4 separate regions of the Homo sapiens genome follow, and all the other regions are linked to region 1. The links are contacts of gene promoters, found by promoter capture Hi-C in human tissues and cell types (Jung and others, 2019). All regions are on one chromosome and are shown on one strand. Each heading gives the region's core, a stretch centred on a gene start or on the middle of the fragment in contact. The rest is flanking DNA. Distances are from core to core; before and after follow the strand shown. Region 1 holds the start of GSX1 (GS homeobox 1). Region 2 holds the start of LOC124903139 (a long non-coding RNA gene). Region 3 has its middle 44 kb from the start of GSX1. Region 4 has its middle 62 kb from the start of GSX1.

The links. Contacts are between HindIII fragments. The study calls those that stand out against the background at their distance.
Region 2: a contact is called between a fragment that was not itself captured here and the fragment with the promoter of GSX1 in region 1, in 4 of the 25 tissues and cell types used here (H1 embryonic stem cells, hippocampus, mesendoderm cells and 1 more).
Region 3: a contact is called between a fragment that was not itself captured here and the fragment with the promoter of GSX1 in region 1, in 2 of the 25 tissues and cell types used here (pancreas and small bowel).
Region 4: a contact is called between a fragment that was not itself captured here and the fragment with the promoter of GSX1 in region 1, in 5 of the 25 tissues and cell types used here (H1 embryonic stem cells, heart left ventricle, liver and 2 more).

The regions. Positions count from the first base shown.
Region 1 is chr13:27,791,053-27,794,143 of GRCh38, forward strand. It overlaps GSX1 (GS homeobox 1), which reads left to right and starts at 1,431. Exons shown (of 2, transcript NM_145657.3): 1 at 1,431-2,050; 2 at 2,514-3,091. The coding sequence starts at 1,639. The coding sequence ends at 2,896. RefSeq lists an enhancer at 1,358-2,161. The HindIII fragment of the contact is 15,189 bases long and covers 1-3,091 here.
Region 2 is chr13:27,828,137-27,830,875 of GRCh38, forward strand. All of the region lies in intron 3 of PLUT (PDX1 associated lncRNA, upregulator of transcription), which reads right to left. It overlaps LOC124903139 (a long non-coding RNA gene), which reads left to right and starts at 2,074. Exons shown (of 2, transcript XR_007063734.1): 1 at 2,074-2,266. It also overlaps the pseudogene RNU6-73P. The HindIII fragment of the contact is 3,272 bases long and covers 1-2,739 here.
Region 3 is chr13:27,746,884-27,749,906 of GRCh38, forward strand. No RefSeq gene overlaps it. Among named protein-coding and RNA genes, the nearest start is that of GSX1, 44 kb to the right of the region's middle. The HindIII fragment of the contact is 3,578 bases long and covers 1-3,023 here.
Region 4 is chr13:27,728,710-27,731,806 of GRCh38, forward strand. No RefSeq gene overlaps it. Among named protein-coding and RNA genes, the nearest start is that of GSX1, 62 kb to the right of the region's middle. RefSeq lists an enhancer at 1-1,066. The HindIII fragment of the contact is 6,909 bases long and covers 1-3,097 here.

The sequences.
Region 1 (3,091 bases), core at 181-2,680:
TGCAAAGATGTTGCCAAGGATAAAAGCCCATGCAGATGCTTCGGGTTTGGGCAATCTTATTCCTGCGCACTGCTTCCCCAGACCCCTAAGCTTCCCCCTCCATTTCTCACAATTCCATTCAGGGCTCAGAGCAGGTGACTGCAGCGATTTGGTTCCAATAAAATCGAAAGTAAACGTCTCCTGTGAAAAGTCCCGGGCTGTAAATTAGAAATGTTTATGCTGATTTCCCATTGTATGGAAAAAGCTCCTGGGCGAAACAGCTTTGAGCCCGAGAACGATTTAAAAAGCTGGAGCTGTGTACACAGCTCTGAGCGTTTGAAGTTGTTTAACCATTGTGTGACCAGAAAGAAGAGTGACGCGGCAGGAAGAAGAAGCCGGGTCTTGGGGAGAGCGGAGGCGGGTCAGGGTGGGCAAAGGCAGCCGATGCCAGGAATACAACCGCCCTTCGCGCCGTTCCAAACTAAGAGATGGCAGCGGTTTCCCAGCGCACTGCTGGAAGTGTGCTCCAGTAGACAGGGTGTGGGCAAGATGCGCGGGCAGACAGTCCGCACTCGCCACATGTGCTGGGGTGCGAGATCTAGATCTGCGCCATCTCGGCTTTCATTCCCCATTCCCTGTCTCTGTTCGTAACGCTCAGAGACTGTTTTTCCTCTTTTACATCCACGGCCCTGTCATTTGAAGGAAAGGGCTGGTTGGCCAGCATCTACCGAACAAAGACTGGGCGTCGTAGGCAGCACCAAAATTAAGACTATTTGAGAAACTTAGAGAAAACCGAGGGACAGCGATGGGTCTAGGGCTGGATAAGGAATAATGAGCCCTTCTCCTCCCTCCCCACAGACGCCTCCTTCACGCGGGAACCCGGTCCTCCTTCTTCCGACGCAGAGAGAGAAGCGATTCCACAGGTGGAAAATCTGAGACCGGCTGGAGGGAGGTTCGGGGGTGCACGGCACTGAGCTGACAGGGCTGACTGGAGACAGCATACTTTTGGGGTGTAAGGGCGATAATAGAAAGAAGGGGACCAGGACCAAGTGGACAGAGGATATGAGGGTGTGCGCCCATGGGGATCTGTAGAAGAGAGGCCGCGGGGGTGCAAAATCAGTAAGGTGAACGGGCTGATGGCCAATGCAAAGCCAAAGGGGAGTAAGAAATAAAGAGAAAGGAAAGAATATTAAATCGCGGGAGAATGAGAAAATAAACCCGCAAAAGGGAGAGGAGGGGGCGAGGGCGCCTGTTACGGCGTGGGTGGGGTTGACAAGAATAGAGTACATTATGCAGTTCATTTAGTTAACAAGTGAAATAATGAGGAAGCGTGCAGAGTGAATGCCAAGAGAAAAGGCACAAAAACCCTATTGAGAGGCCCCGGCCGCTCCTGGCGTAGTCCATCACATGGCAATAGTCCTATTTAAGCCGCGCCGCCGGCGCCTTTCAGCACCACTAGCGCTGGCCAGCACCCCGCGCTCTTTGGGCGGTGCCCACGGCAGCAGAGGCTACTGTTTCAGCCTAGGTCTCAGCCGCGCGTTCAGCCTCCTGGGCAGAGGCAGCTGCGGGATACCGCGGCCAGGGAAAGCGCGTGGAGAGCCGAAAGGTGCGGTGGGCGCAGAGGGCGGGCTGGCTGCGGGGCGACCGCGCGCCGGGGCCATGCCGCGCTCCTTCCTGGTGGACTCGCTAGTGCTGCGCGAGGCGGGCGAGAAGAAGGCGCCCGAGGGCAGCCCGCCGCCGCTCTTCCCCTACGCTGTGCCCCCGCCGCACGCGCTGCACGGTCTCTCGCCTGGCGCCTGCCACGCGCGCAAGGCTGGGCTGCTGTGCGTGTGCCCGCTCTGCGTCACCGCCTCGCAGCTGCATGGGCCCCCCGGGCCGCCCGCGCTGCCTCTACTCAAGGCTTCCTTCCCACCCTTCGGCTCGCAGTACTGCCACGCGCCCCTGGGCCGCCAGCACTCTGCTGTGTCGCCCGGGGTCGCTCACGGCCCGGCCGCCGCTGCTGCTGCCGCCGCGCTCTACCAGACCTCCTACCCGCTGCCTGACCCCAGGCAGTTCCACTGCATCTCTGTGGGTAAGCGGGGCCGCCGCGCAGAGGGACCGGGCAGAGGTGATCCGAAGCAGGATGGAGAGCCAGAGATGGAGGAAGAGGGACCCTGGGCTTTCTGGGGGCGGTGAGGGTCATGTCGGGGACTAAGGGGGGCGCTTGGGGTGGAGTGAGGATAGAGGGCCGGGACACAACGCCAGGAGGCGGATGAGGGCAGACGTCCAGGTCCTGGAGTGTGGGCCGGGGTAAGTGAGGGCTGGGATCCAAGGCTCTCCATGAAGGGGAAGGGGTTCCAGGGCTGCATGACTCCGGGAGAATCAGGATCTCGGAGCTGGACAAGGAGCGCTCACTGTAGCTCTGCTGTGGATTGTGTTGGGGCGAAGAGATGGGTAAGAGGTCAAAGTCGTAGGATTCTGGCGACCGCCTACCAAGGGATTGGGTCCACAGCACAGAGGTCTGATCGCTTCCTTCTCTGCTCTGCCACCTCCAGACAGCAGCTCTAACCAGCTGCCCAGCAGCAAGAGGATGCGCACGGCTTTCACCAGCACGCAGCTGCTAGAGCTGGAGCGCGAGTTCGCTTCTAATATGTACCTGTCCCGCCTACGTCGCATCGAGATCGCGACCTACCTGAATCTGTCCGAGAAGCAGGTGAAGATCTGGTTTCAGAACCGCCGAGTGAAGCACAAGAAGGAGGGCAAGGGCAGCAACCATCGTGGCGGCGGCGGCGGGGGTGCCGGTGGTGGCGGGAGCGCACCGCAAGGCTGCAAGTGCGCATCGCTCTCCTCAGCCAAGTGCTCCGAGGATGACGACGAATTGCCCATGTCTCCGTCCTCCTCAGGGAAGGACGACCGGGATCTTACGGTCACTCCCTAGGCGCGTGTCTCCCTAGGTCGCCCACCCCAAGACCTCCCTGCGCCTCGGAGACTAGTCCTGGGACTCAGCGCTGATTCCCAGGCACCCGCAGCCAAACCACTGCCTGGCATGGATTTGGCACTGCTTTGCAGAGGTCCCGGGCCTGGGCAGGGCTGAGAGCTTGGCAGAGACTGGACCATGGCGTCCCCGCCCCAG
Region 2 (2,739 bases), core at 79-2,578, 37 kb after region 1:
CAACCTTCTTTGGGGTTTCTGCTCTCCCCATTCCTGATGATCCAGCCACATGCCTCTCCTGGAATTTATGCCACCTTCCCATCTCAGAGTCATGGTTCAGCGTTTTTCACTGGTTTATTCTTATTTATCCTGCAGGCTCAGCTTTAATGTTCCTCCTGTGAGCTCACAACCTATATTATTCTTTCTCATTGCAACATGTTCTTTGCATTTACATGCAACCATTTGTGTATCTATTGTGTATGATCCCTCGGGGGCTGATACATTTTGGGACAGGAAGGAAAGCATCCTTTTGTATGAGATGTATCCCCAGTACCAAGCTCCAGGGTCAGCTGGAGTAGTTGTTGAGTTGACATGGATGGAATTGGTGAAGAAATGAATGGGCTGTATAAGGTTGACAGTATTCACTCATAAAGGTTTAGTGACTTGACTCCTGCCACACCCTCAGCAAGCAGACATGCAGTTCCTAGGTGAACTGCACCATCTGGAAGACTCCCTAGGAGAAGAAATGGGGAGAGGGGCTGCAGGAGGCAGGTTAGAAAATTCTAGAACAGTTGGTTCTCCAAGACAGAGTCCCCTTAGAGTGGGGCTGTAAAGATATGTGAGAAGCATAGTCAATGTTCACACTTGTGCTAGCTTTGGCAGCACATATACTAAAACTGAAACAATACAGAGAAGATTAGCATGGCCCCTGTGCAAGGATGACATGCAAATTCGTGAAGCGTTCCATATTTTTTAGTGGAAGCAATTTTGGAGGTAGTGGAAGCTACAATGATTTTGGCAATTACAATAATCAGTCTTCAAATTTTGGACCCATGAAGGGAGGAAATTTTGGAGGCAGAAGCTCTGGCCCCTGTGGTGGTGGAGGCCAATACTTTGCCAAACCACGAAACCAAGGTGGCTATGGTGGATCCAGTAGCAGCAGCAGCTATGGCTTTGGCAGAAGATTTTAATTAGTAAACAAAGCTTAGCAGGAAGGGAGAGCCAGAGAAGTGACAAGGAAGCTACAGGTTACAAGAGGTTTGTGAACTCAGCCAAGCACAGTGGTGGCAAGGCCTAGCTGCTACAAACAAGTCATGTTTTAGACAAATACTCGTGTATGGGCAAAAAACTTGAGGACTGTATTTGTGACTAATTGTATAAGAGGTTATTTTAGTTTCTGTTCTGTGGAAAGTGTAAAGCATTCCAACAAAGGGTTTTAATGTAGATTTTTTTTTCACCCATGCTGTTGATTGCTAAATGTAATAGTCTGATCGTGACGCTGAATAAATGTCTTTTTTAAAAAATGTGCTGTGTAAAGTTAGTCTACTCTGAAGCCATCTCGGTAAATTTTCCCAACAGTGTGAAGTTAGAATTCCTTCAGGGTGATGCCAGGTTCTATTTGGAATTTATATGCAACCTGCTTGGGCGGAGAAGCCATTGTCTTCAGAAACCTTGGTGTAGTTGAACTGATAGTTACTGTTGTGACCTGAAGTTCACCATTAAAAGGGATTACTCAAGCAAAATCGTGGAATTATTGGTGATAAAAGTGATTGTTGGCACATCCTATGCAATATATCTAAATTGAATAACGGTACCAGATAAAATTAGAGATGGGAATGAAGCTTGTGTGTCATCCATTATCATGTGTAATCAATAAACGATTTAATTCTCTTGAAAAAAAATGTTCACACTTGTTGGGAAAAAAAGTCTCCCTTGGTTTCATAATGCAGAATGTTGAAAGTAAGGCTCTCCCTATGACGCCCTTAGCCCCACCTCCACCCCCAAATAACGGGAAATACGGGCCGTCTTCTCTGAAGGAAGATTTTTGGGTTTATCCGAAGAAGGCAGGTGTAAAAAGCGACTGGGAAACAGCAATATGCCCTTCTGCCTCTCCTCTGAGCAGAGCGAAAGGCTGCTGGCCACGGGAATGTGGGTCTCGGTGATCCCCGCAGCCCGCAGGCCCCACGGACCCAGGAGAGGCCGGCGCGGAGCCTGGGGCGGACTAACAGCAGAGGGCGCCATAGAGCAGGCCGCGCCCGGCAGGTGCGGCCCCCGCGCCCGGGTGAAGTCCGCTGGCCGGGAGCAGTTCCAGCCAGACCCTGCAGCTCTCAGACTGGGGCGGCCCTCTCCCTTGCCCTCCTCTGCTCGGCTGTGATTTCGCTGTGCTTCTGTGGGAGAAAATGCTATAAGTGACTCTATGGACATCCGTAAAAATAAATGCCAGCTACTATGACTATTCAGGTGTACAGGTGACATGCGATATTCAGAAAGAAGCTAAGAGTCTGGGGTAAGGGTGGGAAGGGGGATGTGGTTCGTTGTTTTTTGTTTTTCTGCTTGGCTTGTGGAGTCCGTTCAGTGTGTAGTGCTTTTTGTTTGTTTGGTTGGTTTTTTTAATGTCTTAGGTTAAATTTTGTCTTTCTGGGAAAAGCTACTTTGGTTAAAATTTGTCTTTCTGGGAAAAGCTACTTTTTCCCAGGATGATTTGACACAACACTGGTGCAATGCACTAACTTAGATCAAAGAAAACGGGCTGAAGAGACCATTTACCCACATGTAAATCCCAGTAGGCCGTTTTTTAAAGAACCTCCGCCGGGATTGGGAGTCATTCAATCAAGGAGCGTTAGAGCTGGAAGAAACTTTTGAAATTAAACCGCCTTTTTATTATTAGATTAAAAAGGAGGCCCAAAGAGGAGAAGGAACTTGTCCAAAGTCACAGCACCTTTGAATGCAGTGGGGCTGATTTCCAGTCTGGGGCACAAG
Region 3 (3,023 bases), core at 182-2,681, 44 kb before region 1:
AGAGCACAGGGTGTGATCTTGGTAAGAGAAGAGGGCTAGCCCAAGGTATCCAGGCCATCTTCTCATGGCCTGCAATGCAGGACTCTTGGTCTAAGGGTTAACCCTGTGTCTGATGTGTGATTGCAAAAATTATGATAGGGGTAGGTAATCCAAGTGAGCTTGCCTGGCTGTTTGTCTGAGTGGATGCCGCCTTCCAGAAAGAAACTAGCCAGTACCTATAACATTAAAGGTACCATGTTATAATGGTGCCATCTTACAATGAGCCATCTCCCTCATTTGTCATAATGTGTCCAAAATTGGTGGGTTCTTGGTCTCACTGACTTCAAGAATGAAGCTGCGGACCCTCGCGGTGAGTGTTACAGCTCTTAAGGTGGCGCATCTGGAGTTTGTTTCCTTCTGATGTTCAGATGTGTTTGGAGTTTCTTCCTTTGGTGAGTTCGTGGTCTCGCTGGCTCAGGAGTGAAGCTAAAGACCTTCGCCATGAGTGTTACAGCTCTTAAGGCAGCGCGTCTGGAGTTGTTCCTTCCTCCCGGCGGGCTCATGGTCTCCCTGTGCTTGAGGAGTGAAGATGCAGACCTTCGCGGTGAGTGTTACAGCTCATAAAAGCAGTGTGGACCCAAAGAGTGAGCAATAGCAAGATTTATTGCAGAGAGCGAAAGAACAAAGCTTCCACAGTATGGAAGGAGACCCGAGTGTGTTGCCACTGCTGGTTCAGGCAGCCTGCTTTTATTCTCTTATCTGGCCCCACCCACATCCTGCTGACTGGTAGAGCCTAGTGGTCTGTTTTGACAGGGTGCTGATTGGTGCGTTTACAATCCCTGAGCTAGACACAAAGGTTCTCCACGTCCCCATCAGATTAGTTAGATACAGAGTATCCACACAAAGGTTCTCCAAGGCCCCACCAGAGCAGCTAAATACAGAGCGTCGATTGGTGCACTCACAAACCCTGAGCTAGACACAGGATGCTGACTGGTGTGTTTACAATCCCTGAGCTAGACATAAAGGTTCTCCAAGGCCCCACCAGAGCAGCTAGATACAGAGTGTCCATTGGTGCACTCACAAACCTTGAGCTAAACACAGGGTGCTGATTGGTGTGTTTACAAACTTTGAGCTAGATACAGAGTGCTGATTGGTGTATTTACAATCCCTGAGCTAGACATAAAGGTTCTCCAAGGCCCCACCAGAGCAGCTAGATACAGAGTGTCGATTGGTGCACTCACAAACCCTGAGCTAGACACAGGGTGCTGATTGGTGTGTTTACAAACCTTAAGTTAGATACAGAGTGCTGATTGGTGTATTTACAATCCCTGAGCTAGACATAAAGACTCTCCACGTCCCCACCAGACTCAGGAGCCCGGCTGGCTTCACCCATTGGATCCCGCGCCGGGGCTGCAGGTGGAGCTGCCTGCCAGTCCCAGGGCTGTGCACCCGCAATCCTCAGCCCTTGGGTGGTCGATGGGACTGGGCACCGTGGAGCAGGGGGTGGCGCTCGTCGGGGAGGCTCGGGCCGCACAAGAGCCCATGGAGCGGGTGGGAGGCTCAGGCATGGCGGGCTGCAGGTCCAGAGCCCTGCCCCGCGGGAAGGCAGCTAAGGCCCGGTGAGAAATCGAGTGCAGCGCCCGTGGGCTGGCACTGCTGGGGGACCCAGTACCCCCTCCACAGCTGCTGGCCCGGGTGCTAAGTCCCTCATTGCCCGGGGCCAGCAGGGCTGGCCGGCTGCTCTGAGTGCGGGGCCCGCCAAGCCCATGCCCACCCGGAACTCCAGCTGGCCCGCAAGCGCCGCACACAGCCCTGGTTCCCGCTGGCGCCTCTCCCTCCACACCTCCCTGCAAGCTGAGGGAGTGGGCTCCGGCCTTGGCCAGCCCAGAAAGGGGCTCCCACAGCGCAGCGGTGGGCTGGAGGGCTCCTCAAGTGCCGCCAAAGTGGGAGCCCACGCAGAGGAGGCGCCGAGAGCGAGCGAGGGCTGTGAGGACTGCCAGCACGCTGTCACCTCTCAATAACAACCCAGCTAGTCTTATATAGACAGCCCCATTTCAGTGACCAGGAAACTGAAGCTTGGAGAACAACTGTGTTGCTTGAGACCACAGAACTGGGGTTAGAAGAAGGTCTAACTGACCCCAGAGCCCATGCTCTTCCCAATATGCTGTACTGTCTCCACAGCACACCACGTGCCACACATTTCCCATTTCCAATCCAAAGATCATGCCCCTCACATAAATCAAACCACAGACCATGGGAGCTACACACAGGACACTCAGCAACCCTCTGACTATAATTATTTGATGTTGCTTGCCACAGGCTGTTTGTGCTGCCTGACAATTATGTCTGTGCAGCCAGAAAGCGGAAGGTGAAATGAGTAGAAGAAAGAATAAATGCCCTTCAATGCCTTTCTCCATTTCCATGGAGTGTTGCTGCACCCCACTGAAGACATGGTCTGAGCTGAGGCTTCGGAGTTACCCTCAAAGCTGGGCCTTGGCTTTTCTGACCTTCCCTGCAAGCCGAGTTGTCCCAAGAACCCAGCTGGCCAGGCCACAAGTCAGCTACATCCTGCCCTCCCCTTACTATGAAAACCTGGGGCAGATGATCACCTGGCAGTGCAGGCTGGCTGTGAAGCAGTCACTCTCCCCATAGCAGATCAGTGAGAGCCATCTCTTACCATGTCCTTGAAGAGGAAAATCAGCTTTGCCCCAGTTTTGATCATATGAAGCAATAGTGTATTAAATAATAAAGCCAAAATTGTGACAGGCTGCCTGGCATACTGACACCCTACAGTATGCCAGGCACCGTATGAAACACTTTGCAACTGTCTTGGGTATTAAACAAGTGGAGGATATCATTACTGGATAAAGCATCCATCAGTCCATGGTCTACCTTGCTTTTCCAAGTGTGGCCCACAGATCAACAGCATCAACCAACATTATCTAGGAGCTTGTTAGAAAAGCAGAATCTTGGGCCCCTCCCCAATACTAACCTGCATTTTAACATGATTAAGAGGTGGTTTGTATGCACATTAAAGTTTGAGA
Region 4 (3,097 bases), core at 57-2,556, 62 kb before region 1:
TTGCAAATTTTACATACAAGAATTGGGGAGCTGGGCCACTTTGCACAGGTTATGTCATAATGCAAACACAAAGGGATAAAAGCGCATGGAGGCTTTGGCTGTCAGATATTGAGAGGAGGGAATGGCAGAAGTAAATGACAGCTTAAATGCAGATGTAAGGAGAAAAGTCAAAGATGGGTGACAGAAAGTTACTGGTCAATGAATAAGGGAGAAATTTCAGACACACACACAAAAAACAGACAAAAGGGTAAAATACAATAAAATCTATCTATAGAGATTTACTGAGAAAACCCCCCAAAGCATATTTAGCAAATCTTAGAACTATGAAACCCTGTGAAACCAACACATGGCTCTTTAGACAGGGCCTTTGTGGACTTTCTGTGTCCCACCACTGTTTCCTCGCAACTTACGGACGGGAGAGGATGTTTTCAAACAATGGAGGAGCCTCCCCGGGAACTCATATTTTAGACACAGCTTGGAAAAATGGATGTTTGCTGATGAAAAAAATATATGTAAAGACAGGTAGAGATGACCCTTGGAGACAGGCCTTTCCTGGAATGGAGACACTGGCTCGCAGCAATTCATAAGGAGTTATTTGGGGCTGACACCCCTTCCCCCACCCTATTCTCTTGCCCCCACATTTCTTTAAAATGTGTTACTTAGTCAGATTTTGTTTGTTTCCTCCTCTCTCCCAAGTCGGAAGGTGATTCAGCAGATTTCTGGAATGGAGCTGCCTGCCCATGCTCTTGGCATCTTTAGGTTGCAGAAGGACAGGCCTCCTTCCCGCTCTGTTCCACCCCTCACCCCCTCCACTGAGCTTAGGGCCGAGTGACCAGGCATCTGTCTTGAAAAACCCAAGTGTCAAGAAGAAGCAAAAATACTGAAATTAATCTTCACTGCTTTTAACTTAAAGAGCTATTCACGGTGTGAAAGCAGTTGGAAAAGACTTGGGTGGGCAGTGAACTAAGAAGTCACCATTTGCAAGAGTTGAAACTCAGAGGGAAGAATACTTTTAAGTAGCATGAACTCGCCACAAAAAGTCGCAGTGCTCAAAGGCGTCCAGAGTCCAGTAAAACTGACACTACATTTCACATTCATTGACTCTTGTTCTTTTGGGGGAGTTTTCGTATGAAGAGAAAGAGACAATGGAAGACAATAGTGCTACCTTATCAAAGTTCATTCATGCAGCTATTTCAAATACTTTTAACTGCTTGTCAATAGGTCTCGCAAGTCCCTGAGATTCTAAACGTTCTGTCACGTTTGTGTACTAACCACTTAAAGTTCTGCTGAAGCTTTGTGCCCCGGACTGCCTCCCCTTTATGTGGGTCAAAATGCAAGGCAAAGCCATTGTGTTAACCGGCCTCCATTAAATTCATTGATTTGACCTGTATTTTAAAGACCAAAAGTCAAACGGAATGGGAAGTTAAAGTTCCCATACAAAATCTTCCCGTGGGCACTTTTCGGCTTCCTTGAACTATCTGGTGTGTAGGCAAAGGACGTTTTAGGGCTGTTTGAAGTCTGGCTTGCTGCCCCACAGCATTTTTGCTTACATCGTATTTTTGGAGAAAAGTTTGGGTTTGTTCTTAATTTTATGCAAGGATGAAACAACGCTAAAGTTGAAGGAAGTCTGTTATCTTGAATTTGATTTTCTTCCCAAGGAAGTGGTTTTGCTCACCTTCTTCAGCAGCTTGACAAAGCTACAGCTGAGGCTGGTCCTGTTGCCCTAAGCTGGGCTCTCTGTCCTTGCTCAGAACTTCCTGATCGTGAATTGTCGTTTTTTCAGTCAGTATGCACCTTTGGACTTGAGGTGAGCTTAAGTTTTCTTCTGGACACATTGAGGAATGGCGGCATTTCAAAGCCCTGTCTTTTTCTCATGAGTGTTTTTATGGCAAAAGTAGTCACAAACAGTTCTCATTTAAAGTGTGTGAAGTGTGGGGGCAAGTAAGGAGGAGAAATTATCAATAAAAACCCAAAAAAGTGCCCTTCAACCAGAAGACAACTTCAGCCTGCTGTTCCTCTCTCTCACTTTTACTCTTAAGCATTCTCCCATTTCCATTTTGTCCAGTTAAAAAGAAATGGAAAACTGCCAGCACTTTGAGAGGCCGAGGCAGGTGGATCTCTTGAGGCCAGGAGTGCGAGACCAGCCTGGGAAACATGGTGAAACTCTGTCTCTACTAAAAAAATACAAAAATTAGCTGGGCATGGTAGTGGGCACCTGTAATCCCAGCTACTTGGGAGGCTGAGGCAGGAGAATTGCTTGAACCCGGGAGGCAGAGGTTGCAGTGAGCCGAGATCGTGCCATTGCACTCTAGCCTGGGCAACAGAGTGAGACTCTGCCTAAAAAAAAGAATAGGAAAACCATCCATCCACTTCAATGCAGAAGGAGCAAAAATCAAACTATTGATACCACTTAACACTTACTAGATACCACAGTTCTGATGACTTTTTAAAAATAATTCTATCAACACCATCAGCCAGTCGGGGAGATGCCAGGCCTAGCGAGATGTGGTTGAGGAGCCTGAACCCAGTAGATATGAAGTGCCCGAGAAAGGCAGAATCCAGTGAACACTTTGTGACTCTATATTGAACTGAGAAGATGCAGAAAGCCCATCGAGCAAATATATGTGTAGAACTCTAAAAACTCCAGGGACAGAGTTCTTGAAAGTCATGAATAAATATCTCTCTGCCAGGAAAGTTCATTTCTAATTGTTGCTAGCTACTATTACAATATAATAATATAGCACAATTGTTGAGGGTAAGATTGCTATACTCATTTTATAAATGAGGAAATTGAAACTCAAAGATCAAGGAACTTCCCAAGTTCACACAGCAAATAGATAGCAGAATAGAACCTGGATCTGTGTGATCACAAAGTCCACACACTGAGGAGAACTTTATGTAAGTTCCTTCCAATGACCAGATCCTGAGTGATATAAAAGCACACATGAAATTAAGTATTGATATGTGCTTATTGGGGATTACTGCTATGAGATACAAGATATTTTCCTAAGGCTATCTTTTTTTGTTGTTTTTTCTTTTTTTTTTTTAATTGTACTTTAAGTTCTAGGGTACATGTGCACAATGGGCAGGTTTGTTA